4 separate regions of the Homo sapiens genome follow, and regions 2, 3 and 4 are each linked to region 1. The links are contacts of gene promoters, found by promoter capture Hi-C in human tissues and cell types (Jung and others, 2019). All regions are on one chromosome and are shown on one strand. The core of a region is centred on a gene start or on the middle of the fragment in contact, and the rest is flanking DNA. Distances in the headings are between cores, read along the strand shown.

The links. The method cuts DNA at HindIII sites, captures the fragments that hold promoters and counts their contacts. A contact is called where the count stands out against the background at its distance.
Region 2: a fragment that was not itself captured here is called in contact with the fragment with the promoter of B4GALNT3 in region 1 in 2 of the 25 tissues and cell types used here (dorsolateral prefrontal cortex and heart left ventricle).
Region 3: a contact is called between a fragment that was not itself captured here and the fragment with the promoter of B4GALNT3 in region 1, in 1 of the 25 tissues and cell types used here (lymphoblastoid cells).
Region 4: a contact is called between a fragment that was not itself captured here and the fragment with the promoter of B4GALNT3 in region 1, in 1 of the 25 tissues and cell types used here (heart right ventricle).

What each region holds. Positions count from the first base shown.
Region 1 is chr12:458,547-461,561 of GRCh38, forward strand. It overlaps B4GALNT3 (beta-1,4-N-acetyl-galactosaminyltransferase 3), which reads left to right and starts at 1,393. Exons shown (of 20, transcript NM_173593.4): 1 at 1,393-1,999. The coding sequence starts at 1,831. RefSeq lists an enhancer at 561-1,544. The HindIII fragment of the contact is 8,839 bases long and covers 40-3,015 here.
Region 2 is chr12:1,113,560-1,116,574 of GRCh38, forward strand. ERC1 (ELKS/RAB6-interacting/CAST family member 1) reads left to right here. Exons shown (of 19, transcript NM_178040.4): 7 at 2,307-2,474. It overlaps LOC124902857 (a long non-coding RNA gene), which reads right to left. Exons shown (of 3, transcript XR_007063157.1): 3 at 1,855-1,940. Among named protein-coding and RNA genes, the nearest start is that of ERC1, 120 kb to the left of the region's middle. RefSeq lists an enhancer at 1,841-3,015. The HindIII fragment of the contact is 4,498 bases long and covers 1-3,015 here.
Region 3 is chr12:1,097,124-1,100,138 of GRCh38, forward strand. All of the region lies in intron 3 of ERC1 (ELKS/RAB6-interacting/CAST family member 1), which reads left to right. Among named protein-coding and RNA genes, the nearest start is that of ERC1, 110 kb to the left of the region's middle. The HindIII fragment of the contact is 4,018 bases long and covers 1-3,015 here.
Region 4 is chr12:1,033,840-1,036,854 of GRCh38, forward strand. All of the region lies in intron 2 of ERC1 (ELKS/RAB6-interacting/CAST family member 1), which reads left to right. Among named protein-coding and RNA genes, the nearest start is that of ERC1, 44 kb to the left of the region's middle. The HindIII fragment of the contact is 8,762 bases long and covers 1-3,015 here.

The DNA.
Region 1 (3,015 bases), core at 143-2,642:
AATAAGCATTGGAAGCCATTAAATATTTTTGAGCAGGTGTGTGACTACATACGGGATTTTTTTTTTTTTTTTTTTTTTTTTGAGACAAGGTCTTGCTCTGTCACCCAGGCTGGAGTGCAGTGGCATGATTGTGGCTCACTACAACCTTACACTCCTCCCACCTCAGCCTCCCGAGTAAGTTAGGACTACAGGTGTGTGTCACCATGCCTGGCTTTTTATGAAGACCATCTGGTGGTAGTGGACAGGATGCGATGGGAAGCTTGGAGTTGGGGAGGCTAATTAGGAAAAGTCCTGTAGAAACTATTGAATATCCAACTGAGGTGAGAACAGAGAGAAGGGAAACATAGTTCTCAATTCTGTGAGAACCTCTGTCTTGGAACAGTACTTGTGTGATATTCATTTGATTTTAAAATGTCCAGGAACACTTTGATCCTTCACTTTTCCCATAGTCTCCTGACCATTTTTCCCAGAAGAGATAATGGAAAAGAAAACTGCAGTATAACTTGCTGAGTGACCTGGGGCAGTTATTCTGCCCCTTGATACTTTATCTAATTTAAATCAGATAATAATGCTTTACCTGCCTGAAGGCAGAGGACTGGAATACTGATTTTTTTTTTTTTGAGACAGGGTCTTGCTGTGTTGCCCAGGCTGGAGTGCACTGACGCAATCACGGCTCACTGCAGCCTTGACCTCCAGAGATCAAGAGATCCTCTTGCCTCAGCCTCTCAAAGTGCTGGGACGACAGCCGTGAGCCACTGTGCCTGGCTTATCTTGCTGATCTTTTCAACTCTAAGAGTGAATACTTTTCTTTTCTTTTTAAAATTCTTTTTCGGAACCCTCAAACACCTACTCTCTTCAAACAGCCATTCCAGCCCAGTCTGGGGAAAACTGCTTGCTGGGGTTCACCGTGGGGGCTGTACGACTTCCCCAGCGCCTCTCGGAGATGTGGTTCAGGCTGGGAAGAAAGGTCTTCAAATCTCAACTGGAAAACGAAGCTATGTCTGCGTTAAGCGTCCAGTGGCTCCCGTGATATTTCACGCCTACTGGTTTCGTCAAGCAGGGAGTCGGGTCGTTGCTGTTGGCGACGAAAGGCTCTGAGGCTAAAGCCTTGGGCGTCGCCCAAACCAGCCTCTACTTCGCTTCTGCCTAAAACCACACCGTTAGGCGCCTGGGTGGTGACTCGGTTTCCCTCGGTCACCCAGAGTCCGCATCATCACTCGCCCCCTCCTCATCCCACCCGTTCCCAGTCGGGGGAGGCACCAGGCACCAGTTCTCTGGCCCCACCTCTCGCTCCCCTAGGGAAGCCGAATGGCCTCTTCGCGTCCCTGGCTTCTCGGGGGCGGAGCCCACCTGTGCCCGGGGCGGGGGCGGGGGCGGGGCCGGGGGCGGGCCAGGTTCCGCGAGCAGGAGAGCCCAGAGCCCGGAGCCCGGTCCGGGGCTGGCGGGGGCGCGGGCGGAGGCAGGCGGGCGGGCGCCGGGGAAGCCTCCTTCTGGGCAGCGAGTGAGGGCGGGCGCGCAGGGAGGGAGGGCGGCAGCGAGCCTGCGACGGGAGAGGCGTGGGGAGGAGAGCCCGGCGCGGAACACACGCGCGGAGGAGGAGCCGGGCTCGGCTCCCGGAGAGACCTGCTGGGCGCCCGCGCAGCCCGGAGACCCCTCGCGCCCGGAGCATGAGCCCGAGCCCCGCCGGAGAGCGGCCGGGAGAGACGGCCTCGGCGCAGCCCTGAGACGCTGGGCCGGGACGCGGGGCGCCCTGGGCGCGGGGCCCGGCCGGGGGGCGGCGGCTCGGGGGGTTGGAGCCCGCGCTGGCGGCGGCCGCCTCGGCGCAGCGCCATGGGGAGCCCCCGGGCCGCGCGGCCCCCGCTGCTCCTGCGCCCGGTGAAGCTGCTGCGGAGGCGCTTCCGGCTGCTGCTGGCGCTCGCCGTGGTGTCTGTGGGGCTCTGGACTCTGTATCTGGAACTGGTGGCGTCGGCCCAGGTCGGCGGGAACCCCCTGAACCGGAGTAAGTAGCACCCAGGGGAGGCGAAGGGCGCGGGGGTGGGCGGCGGCGGCGGCTCCTGCGTTGGGGGGACCCGCCTCTCATCCCATCCTCAGACCCGATTTCCCACCCATTTCTCCCTCAGGTGCCCGGCGTCGCCCCGCGCGTACTCGGGGAGAGCTGCGGGCGGGGGAAGCCGCGGGGCCGAGCGCAGAATTCCCGAGCCCGGGCCTGCCCGCCGGCCACGTGGGTCCGGGGCACCCTGGGGGCTCCTCGCGTCTCCCCTCGGAGAGCGACCCGGAGAGAGGCTCCCCGCCCGTCCCGCCGAGACGCTGGCGGAGACCGGGCCCCTCCAGCCGCTCCGGGCTTGCGGTTCCCGGGGAGGAGGTCCGTGGGGTCCACGCGCGAGCTAGGGATTCGGGTGCGGGATGCCCTCGGCCGTCCACACCCAGGCGCGCGCTCCAGTCCGCGCAGCCCAAACTTTGCCCACCGCCTTCTGTTTGGCTCACTCCGTTTCCTCTCCTGCTGCATCTTCTAGGGGGGTTCTTTTTTACCATACCTCGGAGAGTCCCGTCTCTTCCCCGCTTCCCATACGTCGCTCCTCTCCCAGCCTCCGTCCTCGGCTCTTTGAATCTCCCACCTCCTCGCTGCGCCCTCTTTCTCCTGTTCGGGCCGCCCCTTCTGCCACTTTTCTGAACCCTGAGCAAATCTACCAAACTCCCCAGTTTAAGGAGATGATGGACAGCACAGTGGACCGGGCAGCAGGTAGATTCCTACTTCTGTTTTTAACTTAGCCAAAGCCACTTAATATTTCCGTGCCTCAGTTTCCTCCTAGGAAAACAGGAGAGCGTGGTCTCTTTGCCTTTTTACATCAATAGGTATGGCTGTGCGAGGTGGTTTTCAACGTACTGTGGATGGGCCTAACAAAGTAAAACTGACAGTGACAGGGGCCGTAAAAGATCCTGTAATAGTTGGGAAAAGAAATGGAGAAACTCCCGTTACTACCAGGTGCCCAACGCAAGCCCGGGGAGCCGAGGTTC
Region 2 (3,015 bases), core at 265-2,764, 660 kb after region 1:
AAAAACCAAACTTGGGCTACTTTTGTAGATTTGCTATTTATGGTCCACTTTATAGTATATATTAAAAAGGGAAATATTTTGGTGGAAAGGGTCTAATTTGGTTTATGGAAACCATATATTGGCTAGAGGGAAGGTTGATCAATAACTTCCTTTTTAAAATAGCTACTATTAGTAATTTCTGCATTGAGTCAGACAACAGGCTAAGCACATTTCACGCTTTATTTTACTGAATCCATAAACAGTACAGTGGCATTCGTATAATTTCTCCTTATTACTAATTAGGAAACTGATTAGGAAAGTAATTATTCAGGGACACATAGCTAGCTTAGTTCTGATAGGTGAATGTCTGCAAAGCCTTGTGCTCCTAAGCTTTGTATTATATTTGCTTCCCCTTTATAATGTCTTCCCTTCTCAGTCTTTAAGGAAAATTTGTGCTTCTAAACTCTGCTTTTCTTTTCTTTTTTTCTTTTTCTTTATTTTTTTGAGACAGAGTCTTTCTCTGTCGCCAGGCTGGAGTGCAGTGGCGAGATCTCGGCTCACTGCAACCTCTGACTCCCTGGTTCAAGCGATTCTCCTGCCTCAGCCTCCTGAGTAGCTGGGATTACAGGCATGCGCCACCATGCCCAGCTGATTTTTGTATTTTTAGTAGAGATGGGTTTCACTATGTTGGCCAGGATGGTCTTGATCTCCTGACCTTGTGATCCACCCGCCTCGGCCTTCCAAAGTGCAATGATTACAGGCGTGAGCCACTGCACCCGGCCTAAACCCTGCTTTTCATTTAAAATATTTTCTTTTCTTTCTTAGTCTTTAAGGTCAATATAGCATTATTTGAAGCTTACTTAATAATGCAGATGATGACGAAACAGATTTTTATATTTATTTTTGACCACGTGATTGGAGGTAGCTGGAAATTTGAATAATCTTAGTCATAGTTCTTTAGCTGAGAAAATGGTAACACTTTGAACATCCCCCAAAATATTCATTCATACAACAAATGTGTTTTTGTTACAATCAGTGTGTTAGGGAATGGAATAGTGTTAATGGGTTGTTTTTATTGGTGAAGGGATATCATAAAAGACTCCACGTTGTTACAGTGTGTGCTAACTCTTGGGTACATACTATTTTGCAGGATGAATATAGCCACCGTTTAAAATTATCTTCCACTGATGTTTTTAGTATCCTCAGGTACTTTGTATACAATAAGCATACAGAAATATTTGTTGAATGAATGAATAACTATATCTCTAAAAAGAGATTTTATGCATATGAGAAAAATACTTAATCTTTTTTGAAACAGAAGGCTAAATTGGAAATTTATTTTTGGTGTTCCTCAAAGGTCTAATTTTAATTAATGTGAAATTTATTTCTTCATGGGAAATTGTTCTCAAAAGCTTTATCCCTTATACCTAAGATTATTACAATTACAATACTTTAGATACATTCAAGTTTTTGAAAATGAAAAGATAACTTTTTGTTTCATCAGTGACACCGAAATTACTGACTTGTCAAATGTATACTTCCAATAATTAGTATCTTTTTTAGTTCCTTGTTAGGTGGTAGACATAATTTAAAAGGAGATGTAATTTCTGTTTACATGGCTTCCATTTAGGGTAAAAAACTATTTTTAAAATTCTTAGAAAACAGGAATGTAAAGAAGGTGTTAGAAAGAAAATACTTTCAATGTTAAGAGAGAAATTAATCAATACACATAACATCAAATTATAGGATTTTACAAAACCATGTTATGTATAACATTAAAAGTGGCTTTTTAAGATAAGAATTTTATGCAAACTTTTGAGAATGAAAAAGATAACAGTGAAAAATTAGCACAACAGCAGCAGATTTTGAATTTTAAATAGTACTAGGAGGTTTCTAAAACCTTTTTTGTTATATCTGCACTCATCCTGCATTTGATCCATCATGTTCTGAAGAGGTCTCACCTAGAAAAATGAAAACCATTTCATCAGTACAGTGGTGTTCAGTTGCTTACTGCTGTCTCATAGTCATCTAATTGAATTGGAATTTCCTTTCCCTCCATTCCCTTTCTAAGAGGTTTCAAAGAATATTTAGAAGACACAATAAATGAAAACTGGACATTTCCCTATTGGTTGAATAAGTTTAGTGGTTTTTTTTGGCTCAGGGTTGGGGAGATCCAAGGTTATGTCATGCAAAAAGATGAATATGACCTATCACACAGTTCGTGCTGCATTTAGTTTCATATTTTGTGACTCAGATCTGTGAAAGATACAGATAAGAGGTGTTTGTTTTATTTCTTTTTTCCTTAAAGTGTTTTACTTCTTTTCTAGATTGGCCAGGTGAAACAGGAGCTGTCCAGAAAGGACACAGAACTACTCGCCCTGCAGACAAAGCTAGAAACACTCACAAACCAGTTCTCAGATAGTAAACAGCACATTGAAGTGTTGAAGGAGTCCTTGACTGCTAAGGAGCAGAGGGCTGCCATCCTGCAGACTGAGGTAGAAACAATTCTGGGATTTGTGGGGAGTTGGTTTCTTGGCACCTTTTCATAAGCGTTACCTGTGCTGTTTTTGTTATGTTTAGAATTGGGAAATATGAGTAATGTTATGATTAATTCTTCAGCAGCGTGATCAGTCACTGTGCTAAAATGTAACCATCTTATTTCAGTTGTTCTTAGATCTAACAAGTTAAAACAGGTGCAGTTTATGTTTTTAATTCTTTAAACTTTTGCCAAGTCTGTACTTCAAAGTATACTCTGACAGTATTAAAAATAAAAGGATAATTGTAAAAGAGAAATCATTGATTTAGAAGCTTCAGTTCAACCCCTGGTGAATTTTCTAGTCATGAATGACAATGAGCTTGGTTACACTGTGTTTGGAGTACATTTAAGTGTCTTTAAGTTGTGATATTATGAATAACTGTATATAGGAAACTGGAATCTGTTAAAGTTCTAGATAGTCTAATTTTAAACCACAGATTATTAGACAATGTGTCTTCATATCCTGTTTGAAAATAAAGTTAGTGTTTTTAGAATTTTTT
Region 3 (3,015 bases), core at 291-2,790, 640 kb after region 1:
TTGGCTTATTAGCTGGAATGACAATTCCATCATCTTTGTAATATCCATGTTTATTTCAGTGGAATGACTTCTCTCCTGGTTGTAGGTCATATTTTCCTACTTCGTGTGTATAGAATTTGTGGTATGATGGACATTTTGGACACAAGGTGATTGAGTATCTGGATTTTGGTACCTTCCTTAATGAAGGGTTGTTTTGTCTGGCAAGAGTTAATTTACTTGGGGATTAACTTGATCCTTTCAAGACTTGCTTTTAAACTCTGTTAGGCCTGGTTTAGAATAGCCTTTTCTCTAGGCTACATCAGCTCTACTCCTAAGCTTGACCTTTTAGTGTCTCTACTAAATGCCTCTGCTGTTCTCCCCACTATTTGGAACTTGAATTTTTCCCAGCCCTATGGGGTTCAGGTAGTTACTCAACTCATGGCTCTCTGATAGTTGCTCTTTCTCCAGTAGCTCTTGATCTTATTTTGTGGCAGCTTGCCCTATACATGCACAGCTTAGTATTTGGCCAAAGACTCAAGGGGACCCTTGTCAGGTTAGACAGTGCTGCTTTTCTGGTAAGCTCCCTTCTCTGTGTTTTGTTTTTAATTTTTAATTTTTTTTTTTTTTTTTGAGACAGAGTCTCACTCTGTTGCCCAAGCTGGAGTGCAATGTCGCGATCTCGGCTGACTGTAACCTCTGCCCCCCAGGTTCAAGCGATTCTCCTTCCTCAGCCTCCCGAGTAGCTGGGATTGCAGGTGCCCCCCACCATGCTCAGCTACTTTTTGTATTTTTGGAAGAGACGGGGTTTTGCCATGTTTGCCAGGCTGGTCTTGAACTCCTGGCCTCAAGTGATCTGCCCGCCTTGGCCTCCCAAAGTGCTGGGATTACAGGCGTGAGCCATGGTGCCCGGACCTCTGGTATTTTGCTCCGCAAAGTTTTGCAGATTAATGGGAACCTTACTCATTAAACTGTCTTTGGAGCTTTGCAAGACTGCTGTTCTTTGTTTGGGCTTTCCCTCCCTACGCCCCATACTAGACATATCTGGGCCATCACCTTGTTTATTTTCTCTCAAGGATCATAGTCCTGTATTGCTTGTTATCCAGGGTCTGAAAACAGTTATTTCATGCATTTTGTTTAATTTTATGATAGTTTATGACAGGAAGGCCCATCTCACCTTATGGTCAAAGTGAGAAGTATAATGGTAAATTTATTGAAAGATTTAAAGCAGATTAATGCCATGATTTGTGGATATTTTATCAAGATCACCCTGGTGCTCTCTTGAAAATAGACAAAGGAGGTGGAAGAAAGCTAACTAGAGGCTGTTGCAAACTAGACTGGAAATGGGGTGAAATGGTTAGACTCAAGAAATACTTCCGCACTAGAACAGTTAGGACCTGCTGTTGACTTGGTTGTGGGAAATGAATATCAGGAGGAGAAAAAGGAGAGCTTTGGTGTTTGGCTTGAGCCACTGGAATGGCAGTGCCATTTAATGAGACAGAGAAGACTCATCTCTCATCAGAGTCACCAGATGATGGGTGAGATTGAAGAAGAGGAAATCAAGAATTTTTTTTGATAAAATAAGTGTGAGTTGCCTGTTAGACATCTAAATAGAGATGCCAAATGGGCAGTTGGATGTATGAGTCCTGAAATCAGAGCAGAGGGCAGGCCTAGAAATTCATCAGCATTTCCGTTGTATTTTAAACCATGTAGTAGATTAAAGAGTTTAGATGGAAAAGAGAAAAAGGTTAGAACTGATCACCTGGTCACTGGTCTAATTTAGACCTGGAGGTCTGATTTAGAAGGAAGAACCTGTGAAGGAAACAGAGAAAGTGCAACTGGAGAGTGAGAACTAAAAACAGGAGAGTGTGATGTCCTAATAGTCAAGAGAAAACAAGTGTCTAGGAGGGATTGGGCCGTTGCTTTGAATGCTTCTGAGAGTTCCAGGGAGATGAGGACAGAAATGTGTTTGTTAGAGTTGGTAACTTAGAATTCGTTGGTGGTCTTGATGAGTTGTTTCAATGGAGGGGTAGAGAAACAAGCCAGATTAGGCTGCTTTTATGAGGTAAAGGGAATCTTGTATGTCTGAAATATTTTAAAATTAATTAAAATAAAAAGAGTGAATGGGAGAGGGAGAGGAAGAAGGAGAGATAGCAGGTGTGGACCAGCTGTCTTCAGGGCAGGCATTTGAACACCTTGGAGTTCACAGAGACTCTGCAGTGGTGTGTGGGCAGTTTCAGATTCTCAACTCCCATGTGTCATTCTCTGGATTTTAGTTGGCCGAAAACATACCTGTGAGATCATCTTTCCCCTCCCTTTTTATGGTTGCACTTTGCCCACTCTAACTCCTGTTCATCCTTCAGCTCTCAGGTGTTCCTTAGGAAACTTTACAAGATCCCAAGACTACGTCAGGATCTCCTAATTACTCTCTTACAGTATTGTGGATATTTTCTTTATAACACTTTTTACATATGAATTATACAGTTACTTAAAAAGTATTTTCATTCATTTGACAAATATTTGAGTACTATCATTGTACTGTGTATTGTTCTGGGTGCTGATATACATCAGAGAATAAAAAAGAAAAATTCCTGGGATAGGAGAGACAAACAATAAACAAACAGTTATAAATACCAAGAAAAAAGTAGATCTTGGTTAGGGAGATTGGGGATGTATATTAGAGTCAAATCATAAGTGAAAATGGGGTAATAAGGATGAGCCTGCTTGAGACTTTGATTTTTTTTTTTTTTTTTTTTTTTTTTTTTTTTGACAGAGTCTTGCTCTGTCACCCAGGCTGGACTGCAGTGGCACCATCTCGGCTCACTGCAACCTCCACCTCCTGGGTTCAAGCCATTCTCCTGCCTCAGCCTCCCCAGTAGCTGGGATTGCAGGTGCGCACCACCAGGCCCAGCTAATTTTTTTGTATTTTTAGTAGAGATAAGATTTTACCATGTTGGCCAGGCTGGTCTTGAACTCCTGACCTCGTGATCCACCCGCCTCGGCCTCCCAAAGTGCTGGGATTACAGGCATGAACCACCG
Region 4 (3,015 bases), core at 357-2,856, 580 kb after region 1:
GGCTGGTCTCGAACTCCTGACCTCAGGTGATCTGCCCGCCTCAACCTCCCAAAGTGTTGGGATTACAGGCATGAGTCACCATGCCCAGCTTAAATTCTGTTTTTATAGTTTGGTATTGAATTGTAAATATCAGGAGAAAAAAATGAGTTTGCTTTCTTTAGTTTTGTGGTTAAGTATCAATATAACCTAGGTCTTGGAAACTGTATCTGTATTTTTAGGGGTTGTATTGGGTTCTTTTTCTTTTTCTTGGTAAAAATGAGATTGGTAAATTTGGAGTATGTAATGGTGTATACTAGTGCCCAAATATGAGATTCTTTATATGTATTTAGATAATTATCATAGTGTATCATATTTGAATATTATACAATTTCAAATGTATTGTTAATAAAAAATCACAGTTTGATTTAATTGAAAAGTGGCTGAGACATAATTTTTTATTATAAGAAATATTGTGAGCTGGGTATGGTAATATATGCATGTAGTCTTAGCTACTCAGGAGGCTGAGGCAGGAGAATCCCTCGAGTCCAGGAGTTTGAGTCCAGCCTGGGCAACATAGTGAGACCTTGTCTCTTAAAAATAAATAAAAAAATAAATAAAAATTTAAAATAATTAAGAAATATTGTGGAAAAATTGCATGTGAATAAACACTTCTTTTTAAAGGCTCTACTTTTCAAGAATGGATTGACAGTATATGTGTGTGTCAGATTATACGTGTGTGTGTGTATCAAATTTAGAGTAGATTTGAAGTTACTGGATTTATCACCATTATACCTGGAATTAGCTAGTCACCGTTATACCTTGTTGATGATGCTGAAACTATGCCCCTCACTAAGATAGTTTTTATTATGAAGTGACTCAGAAATGTCAATTTTAATGAAAAAAGTTATTGGCGTACTTGTTCATTTTGGAATAATTGAAGCAATTGTTTATGCCTGTACTTCAGAAGCTGTGTGGAAAATACGTAATATCCTTTCTAAGTATCAGTCTGCATTCAAAGACAAAATATTTGAATCTTCTGAATACTTCAGTTCCAGTGAAACAGTCCACAGGATTTTCATGCCAAAAAACCCATATGTGCTGAAGAATGGTGAACACCGCCTTATCTAGATTCCACCCCTTGCCCTAATTAAACACCAGTGCTGGCAGCGATGCATTCTCCGTATACCCACTGTAATTACTACACAATCCTAAAATTGTATAACTTTGGTCCAAAAAACGAAGGGTGCAATTTTAAAGTAAAGTGAAACACTGCAATGAGATACAGAGACAGAGAATGCTAATTAATAGATTATAGTCAGCCAGCAGTGGGGCCTAATTAAACTCTGCATTCATTATACCCTCCATAGCCCTCAGAGGTCAGGCATCTTCCACTTGATAAAGAAGATTGGTTTAATAGGATTTACAGTAATTAAATGGTTTCCCCATTTCAGTTTGAGACTGGGGATTTAGGTCCATTCTAAATATTGGATCTGATTGGACCATAGAGATCTTGTTCTAGGATCCTATTAGATGTAAAGACGCATTTGCTTAGAATTACTTGATATGTGTGGTTCTTTATTATGGAGTTCTTTTAGAAGATGTTTCTGATATAAATACTCAGCAATTTTTATGTCTCATCCTTTTGTTACTGAACTTTCAAATACTGCTGGTTGGAGAGTTAGAATAGTATGTAACAGGGAAGGCTTTTTCTTTTTCTTTTTTAAAATTGGGAGTCAGGAAGGTTTTTGGTGTATGTTTGACAAAGAATGAAAATCTAGCTGTGAGCTTGGTGGAACTGCAGAGCTACTAAGACTTTGGATGGGGCCGGGCTCAGTGGCTCATGCCTATAATCCCAGCACTTTGGGAGGCTGAGGTGGGCGGATCACGAGGTCAGGAGATCGAGACCATCCTGGCTAACACGGTGAAACCCCGTCTCTACTAAAAATACAAAAAATTAGCTGAGTGTGGTGGCGGGCACCTGTAGTCCCAGCTACTCGGGAGGCTGAGGCAGGAGAATGGCGTGAACCCGAGAGGCGGAGCTTGCAGTGAGCTGAGATCGCACCACTGCACTCCAGCCTGGGAGACAGAGCATGACTCCGTCTCAGAAAAAAAAAAATACTTTGGATGATTTTTTTTTTAAATTCTAAACAGCATTTAACCAGATTATCATCATACTTTTTAAATTATGCCTTGAAATAATTCTGTATGTTAAATTTAGTTGGAAGCTTATTTTAAAAATGTTTATTTAAAGCACTGTCATTGAAATATTTCATGAACAAAATACTGTTTAATATTATAGGACGGCAGGTGAATTTAATGTTTTTTGCCTTGTGTGTTGTGTTTCTTCTCTTTTTGGAGTCTGATTTTTATGTTGCTCATTTACTTAGGAATCGAGAATTTCTAGTTCAGAACTGCAAAAAGATAACCTTGTGTAATTCTTTGTCATTTTTTTTTCTCATTATTTGGAGACTTTTGACTATTAACATTTATATAATTTTAGGTTGTATCTTGATTTGCCGCATGATAAAAGCCATTATTATTTGCCATTAAATAAACTTTTTTTTTTTTTTTTTGAGACAGAGTTTTGCTCTTGTTGCCCAGCCTGGAGTGCAATGGTGCGATCTCGGCTCAGTGCAGCCTCCACCTCCCAGGTTCAAGTGATTCTCCTGCCTCAGCCTCCTGAGTAGCTGGAACTGCAGGTGCACGCCACCACGCCCGGCTAATTTTTTGTATTTTTAGTAGAGATGGTGTTTCGCCATGTTGGGCAGGCTGGTCTCAAACTCCTGGCCTCAGGTGATCTGTCAACCTCGGCCTCCCAAAGTGTTGGGATTACAGGTGTGAGCCACTGCTCCTGGCCTTAAATAAACTTTGTCATGAGGTTGCTAGTTGTTTCACTGTCATTTAAAGTCTGATCTTAAAATTTGGGATCTATGTCTTAGATTATTGTTTTAATTTTCTTTTTGATAATTCTGTTTTAACAAGGAGATGTAGATAAATTGGTATCCTTGTTTATTGCCCAGATAAGTTTAATCTTTT